2 separate regions of the Homo sapiens genome follow, and region 1 is linked to region 2. The links are contacts of gene promoters, found by promoter capture Hi-C in human tissues and cell types (Jung and others, 2019). All regions are on one chromosome and are shown on one strand. The core of a region is centred on a gene start or on the middle of the fragment in contact, and the rest is flanking DNA. Distances in the headings are between cores, read along the strand shown.

Evidence for each region. The method cuts DNA at HindIII sites, captures the fragments that hold promoters and counts their contacts. A contact is called where the count stands out against the background at its distance.
Region 1: a fragment that was not itself captured here is called in contact with the fragment with the promoter of NEURL1B in region 2 in 1 of the 25 tissues and cell types used here (spleen).

Annotation. Positions count from the first base shown.
Region 1 is chr5:173,319,146-173,322,705 of GRCh38, forward strand. The region is part of intron 3 of STC2 (stanniocalcin 2); the gene reads right to left. Among named protein-coding and RNA genes, the nearest start is that of STC2, 7.5 kb to the right of the region's middle. The HindIII fragment of the contact is 5,604 bases long and covers 1-3,560 here.
Region 2 is chr5:172,639,751-172,643,283 of GRCh38, forward strand. It overlaps NEURL1B (neuralized E3 ubiquitin protein ligase 1B), which reads left to right and starts at 1,513. Exons shown (of 5, transcript NM_001142651.3): 1 at 1,513-1,687. The coding sequence starts at 1,657. RefSeq lists a silencer at 1,275-1,564. The HindIII fragment of the contact is 6,548 bases long and covers 1-2,972 here.

The sequences.
Region 1 (3,560 bases), core at 1,001-3,500, 680 kb after region 2:
CTTGGGTTGTTCTGTAGGAAAACCACTGGAATAATTTACTCCAGGGGGTGGACAAGGTGTGCAGAAGGCAGGAGCATCTGCTTTTTATATTTATGGGCCCATCTGGTAAAGAGTGTCCCCAGCAATGGGCTCTCATGGGCCACTCACTGAGCTTTTATTTTAACCTCTCACTGGCCTTTAAAACCCCCCAAGGGGGGTATAGAATGTTTCACATGGCTAACCAGCATTCCTAGGCAGTCCTCGCTGGCAAAGTTTCTGATCTATCTGACCACAAGCATTGCAGCTTTGGGCCATCACCTTGAGCAGGGAAGTCACCATGGAATGTGAGGTCATTCATAACAAGGAGCAATCTGATTTGTCCTCCCTAAGTCTGGGCCACCAGAGAGGCTGCGTTACAGCCCATGGAGCCTTTTCTTTGCAAGTTGGCAGTTGTTGCTATGTGGAAAGAGCAGACTGTGTTTTGAGATGTGTGAAGTAGTTTACTGCCTTTTTATTAATTATTCCTCAAGTTGGAATTGAGTGAACTGTCCTCACCTCATGGATGCAAAAACTGAGAAAAGCAGGGAGAAGGTGGCTCTTGGAAGCTTCTGGGCTTCAGGGCCCAGGGCTTGGCTGAGAGCAGAGCAGAGAGGAGGAATGCTCTGGCTGAGAGAGATCCAGCTGCTGTTTAGGGCCTGCTTGATGACTTTGGAGTCAGCAAGTCTGTGCATGGCCGCTGGGCAAAGGGCTTTAAACCCCCTAAGGCAGGCCCCTGACAGCGCAAGACAACCTAACCCTGTCCCTTGGACTGCCCTGAGGTGGGCAGGTGGGCATGCAGGAGGCAATATGAGGGAAATGCTCCACGCGTGCTTGTTTCCTTCTATTTTTTGAAAACTAGAAACTGCCTCCGGAGCTCAAGTTCACCGAGTGTGTCTGCTAAAGCAGCAACAGGATTTTAGCACCTGACTGTGCCTGCCGCGGCACCAGGGCTAGGTGAGCACACTGCAGGGGTGAGGGTCTGTCTTTCTGAGATACTAACTGGATGCTGTCTTCAAGCTCCTTTCCCCAGAGTAAGGGGAGGGCTGTCTTGGGAATATGCAGACTGTCTTTCGCCTTCCCGGCCAGGGCGTTCTGTCTGCCAGATGAGCCCCCAGAAGCCCAGGGCGGATCTGGATCCCAGAAGGCTGGATGAGCCCATGCTGTCCTCTGCCCTTGGCCCTCTCTCTCTCCAGGAGGAAGCTGTGAACTGCGGGGAGGGGTGTGTGTGCCGAACCAAGTTAATCCAAGCCGTGTTCCGAGCTGGCCTGGTGCCTTCTGAGGCTGCAAGCTCAGCCCGTGTCTAATGACAAAGTCCAGCTCGTTCAACTGGGTGTCAGCAAGCCTAAAGGATTTTAAAAAATACTTGGAGGGGGATGTGCCTGGAGCCTGCCAGCACCCAGTGACATGGCGAGTGGGGGTAAAACCAGGCAGGCGGCAGCTAGGGGGAGACAGATGCTGTGCAGAAAGTGGGGCGGGCAGGAAGGGGTGAGGGGAGCGGAGAGGAAGAGCTTGAAAAGAGCAGCATTAACTGGGGGTGAGTGTTCTGGTGTGGATGGGGGTTGGGTTGAAGAATGGGGGTGGTGCAGATTCTGGGGTGACTGTGATTTCCTCATCTCTAAAGTGAAAAGCAAATTCAGTTCTCTCTTTTTTTTTTTTTTTGACCAATGCCACACATTTGGAAATGGGCTTCTTGATATTTGGGGACTGATAGGATACTTTAATCAGTTAAGATGGTTGGGAAAAAAAAACCTAAAAAACAGGCAGTTCAGCTAGAAGTACAAGTCGATGCACCGCCACATCATGGCTTCAGAAGGAAAGGTAATGGGGGTTTTTGGGAAGCTGGAGTTAGGGGAGACCCCTGCCTAGAGATGCTGACTTAGGGGGAAGCAAGAGGAACAGCATGTGACCAGGCTTCTTATATGGGCTGCCTGCATTTCCAGAGCAGGCTGGGGTGGGGGGTCATAGGCTCATTCTGAATGGTGTGAGGAGACCATGGCCCCGAGGGCCACATTCCCAAGAAGGAGACACTAGAACGCCAGAGAGCTTTACCTTCTTCTTAAATTAAGGGGAGGGGGTGGGACTTCCAACCTTCAGTTTTCCCAAAGAATACTTTTCTCCAAGAAAGATAGAATTCCTGTGCTCCAGGCATGCATTATAGCCTTATAAACTAGGAATGGGCCCCATTCCCCACCGATTCCTGAGGCCAGCAAACTCTCTCTAATGGGGGACAGGGCTAGAGGCGAGTGAAGCTCACGGTGTTTCCTAGCCATGGGGCATTTTTCTCTTCCAGAGGCACCTGAAGGAAGGGAATTTTAGAGTGTTCTCCTTGTGTAATGGGGATATATTTGATAAAAGGACAAGAAGCCCACCACATGTGGGGAGCTGTGAGCCCTTTCAGGTCTAGGAGGGAGATAATAGGCTGGGAGCAGGTTTGAAGTCTATTCCTGATGACTGGCTTCAGTCATGTATACCAGCAATTCCGAAGCTTAAAAGCAGGAATCAAACCTCAGTCCGAGTTCTCTAATCTCTTAGCTTCACTTTCCTCCTCTTGGGCATAGTAATTTCTATCTTGTAGCATCTTTGGGAAAGATAAATGAGATAACCCATGTAAAGGCCCTGGCCAAGGGCCTAGACCATTAGAAAAAAAATTAAAAAAACATAAAAAAAGACAGCTATCATTGTTGTTGATGATGCTGTGGCTGCTATTGTTCCCTTAAAAATATTTGAAGAATAAAAAATATTTTGTAAGGCGTTAGCCTAATTCGAGGAAAATGCAATATTGTTTTGCTTTTGGCAAGAGCTTCCTGCAGAGTTTCGCCATGAATTGTATGATTCTAACACTGTAGCAAGGGTGTTGCAAGATGCCTATGACCTTATAACCAAGTGGAAAGAGACAGGAGGTGCTTGCTGTTCTCTGTCATCTAAGTGGTGTTGGTGTGGTAGGGACATAACTGGAAGAAGGTTGTGGCACAAACTGAGGATCAAGAGTTCATAAAATTATACCGATTTGGCTCAATGAGTCACCGTGGAGAGACCAACAGTGCCATCAAACTGGTAATGACTTGTACTGAACTGGTTGGCTAGTGGCTTTCTTTCTGCCCTGTGTCTCTTAGGAAAGAGCCATTGTCAATATTTAAAAAAAAAATCTTCAGGGGCTCCTGGCCCTGCCTCATGTTAGGAACAATTGTGTACCAACATGCTTTACCATGCTGCAAAATTTAGGATCCTGTGGCTGAAATATTTTGTAAGAAATGATGCATCCTGAATTTATCATTGAATTTCAAGTCTTGAAATAAGTAAGTTCACATTTCCTTGTTTTGGCATAGAAGTGTTTAGCTGATTAAAGTTTTTGGCACTTGTTTTGCATTTCCTCTGAGAGGGCACTAATGTATGAGAGAAGGTAAACCGAACCTTCTAAGGGAAAGGAAAGTTAAGGAGGCAGGAAAAGCATCTATAGCTCTGTTTTCGGGATTTAAGAGTATAGGTTCTGGAGGCAGACTGCTCAGCAGACTGGAGCCAGGTCCCAAGTCTGGCTTTGCCTG
Region 2 (3,533 bases), core at 263-2,762:
CAGCCTGGGTGACAGAGTGAGACTCTGTCTCAAAAAAAAAAAGAAAAAAAAAAAGGATCACGCTAACGGACCTTTCTCAAACAGAACTTTGGGGTTAAAAATTAAGTCACTGGGCGAGCACCTGTAATATGAGAAATTAGTAACTCAAATGCAAGGCAATCTTATGTTCAGACATATGACGTCAGGGGGGAGTGGGGAATCAAGGTTTCCCGGAAGTGGAAGCTTGGAGCTGGCCTTAAAGACCCTAGAACCCTCTGGGATGGGTCATGTACTGTAAGCAGAAGGCACCGGAGATGCAGAAGGCTGTCTCCTGAATACCCCGCTTTTATTCGCATAGCTTCAGGCTAGCTTTGCCCTGTACCATTGGAAGATCTTGGGCACCTCTCTTCCACTCTCAGAGCCTCAATTTCCCTATCTGTGAAATGGAAGTAATAATACATATTTCATAAAGTCTCAAGGGATACAAGAGCATGAAAAATAGAATTGAAAAAAACAGCTCATTTGGAATCGGGTCTTCTTGGGGAAGTCATTGCACTTCCTGGGCCTCAGCGTTCCAGCCTGTGAAATGGAGCTCGAGAAGGGCACAGCTGCACTTCCCACTGAGTGTGGTCCAGGTGCCTGAATGAGGAATGCCTGTTACTGCCTCTGCCAGGAACACTCTACCTATCTCTTCTCATGGCCGACGCCTTCTAGTCCATCAGATGGAGCTTATGTGCCCCCACCCCAGATTCTCCCTATGCCCCCAAACAATGTCATCTCCTCACTCTACTGGGATCTGTTTTATTTTCTTCCTGGCTTTGATTATTATATAATGTGATCGTAATTGCTTGTTATTTCTATCTTCAGCATGCCATCTCCAGGGCAGTGGGGACCTTGTCTGTATCTACCCGGCCCAGCACAGTGCCTGGTGCATAGACTGTGCTCAATAAATATTTTAGTGAATGAGCGAATAAATTAATGAATGTGGGTTCCCTCTTCCCAATCTTTGGACACTGGGTTTCTTCTATTCCTCGGTACCTGGCCTAGGGGATAGAAAAGACTCCACCCAAACCCGGGAACCCTGGGTGTACTGTCTCCAAGCCCTTTACATGGTCCCAGGGGCCCGTCTGCCTCTGTGTAAGTTCCCCCGGGGCCGAAGCACTCTCCAAAGAGGTCTGCCGGGGCTAGGACTCGGCCGGCTGGGGCCCCGCGCCTGGAAGAGGGCCTGGCACACAGTGGGCCTTCTCAAAGTGTTAGAACAAATGGGTGACAGGCCAGCAGACTGCCGATCCTGGCACCCGAGGGCACCCAGCTGCCCTGCGCGCCTTCCCGGCCCGGGCGCGGGAGCGGCGAGGGCGGGAGGCTTGGCTGTGCTTCTCCCGCCGCCTGGTGCAAACTTTCAAAAGATGCGGCGGCCGCGGCCCCGCCCCTGCACTGTTGGAGGCGGTGGGAGGCGGGGGCGGAGCCGGCGGGCCCGGGCCGGTGGCTCCGCCTCCTCCTCCCGCAGGCGCCGCCGCCGCCTCCCTCCCGGCTCCCGCCCCAGCTGCCGCCCGCCGGCTCGCCCGTGCAGCTGCGATGCCCCGGAGCGTCGACCCCGGTCCTGGTCCCTGGCCCGCCGCGTAATTAGCCTCCGCGCGCCCAGAGCGCGCCGCCGCCAACGCCGCGCCCGACGCAGCGATGGGCAACACGGTGCACCGGACCCTGCCAGGTACGCCGGGGAGCCCTGCCCGGGAGGCGGGCGCCGGGCTTCTCTCCTCCGGGGGACCCGCTGGGTGACTCTGGAGAGCTACCCCACGGCCCTTGGAGCCCTCGGCTCGCAGCGGGCTGGAGTCTCCGGTACCTCCCGGACCTCAGCTCGGCGCGCGCCCCGCGGCTGGGCTTTGCGCCCCGGGAGGGCGGGTACCGCGTCCTGGTTACCTTGGGGACCCCAGTCCTCATTCTCCCGGCTTTGGCCAGATGCGCAAAAAGGGCCGCTGGGGCGATGCCGCGCGCCCCCTCGCCTTTGTTCCAGCCCGAGGGCGCTGATGAGCAAACTCAAGGCGACCTGGGTGGGGGTGACTGGAGCCGGGCTCGCCAGGGCTTCCGACGGTCAGAAGCCACCCGTGGTGCCAAGACTGCAGCTGCCGAGAGTGAGGGGTGCTCTCAGGGGCACCCCAGTTTCCAGCCTCCCAGCGCCCCCGCGGCACATGCTGCCGTGCTTTGGCCACGTTCCCACGCGCACCCCGGTTGCGCCCCCCTCTGGTGTCCGCTCCACTGGGGACTCCTTCGCCCCCTCGGAGTCGCTGCTGCAGATCGCATCGCCCCCTAGTTAAAATCGCCCCAGAATTTCTGGGACCGGAGTGAGGGGATCCGGAGCAGGTTAACGGGGTAGGAGGAGGCCTTACTGGAAAATACATGGTAATTGTGGGAACAGATCAGCGGTCCCGCGCCCGCGCGTGCCCGTGGAGGTTCAGTGCCCAGCACTTTGCATACCCCAGCTCGGTATGCAAAGAAGCTTCGCGATAAAGATGTGTATCCCAGTTTTACAAATAAAAAAATTGAGTGTCAGAAGAGGTGAAATGACTCACCCAAGGTCACACAGCTAGTAGTGGGAGAATCTGGAGTGGGACCTGTGTCTCTCTGCCCTCCCTCCCCTCACACGCCCAAGTATTTAGAAGTATTTTGTCTTAAGGCTGGGCCTTTGTAGCATCCTTTGGGCAAAAGGTGAGAGGAGTGTGTGTGTGTCTAAAGCACAAAGGCTCGGCTCAATGGGGAAGCAAGTCAGCTGTGAGGTTAATTTAGTGTGAGGTTCTGGAAGAGGGACATATCACCCCATCTCTGCTATAACACTCCCATATAGCTCTCCCTTCTAGGCATTACATGCTCTTAAAGAATAATTTCCCCTGGAGCGGGTTGAAGTGGACAGTGCTGAGCCCAGGATTCCCAGGGTCAGCTTATGGAAGAGGAGCCAACTCCTACTTTACAAGCCTCTGAGCAACTGCACTCAAACGTTCAAATTCCCAGAGAGCTGTAATCATCAGCAGAGTCACCAGCTAGTCAGTGGCAGAGGTGGGATTAGAACCCAGGTCTGCTTACTGGAGGGTGGCCTCTACCTCCTGTGGACAGGGCTATTGCCAGGTTGGGGGAGAACCCACCCGCGGGTCAGGAGATATCTGGGGATGTTGGCAAATAGGGCAGCAGATATTCTCGCCACATAGACACTGGGATGAGGCACCTCGGCACAGGCCCCTTTCCTTGGTTTCTTAATTTAAAAATGTTTATACTATTCTAGTAAAAAGCCATTCTGCCACCTGTGGGTCAGCCCTGGGGTGCGTAAAGGGACAGACACACGCCAGGCAGGCTAAATATAGCTAGAGATTTATGTATTCTCCATCCCTCTCAACTCTCTCTCTGTGGACTGGGCCACCCTAGTCTGGGAGCCGGCAGTTAAGGTTGGTTACCCACTGCAGTGTCTAAGTATGGGGAATTCAGACTCTTCTCTGGGGATTGAAGCTTGCACTGAGTTTGAGGAAGGGGTCAGAACCGGAATTCCTGAGTCACATCGGGTGGCAGAT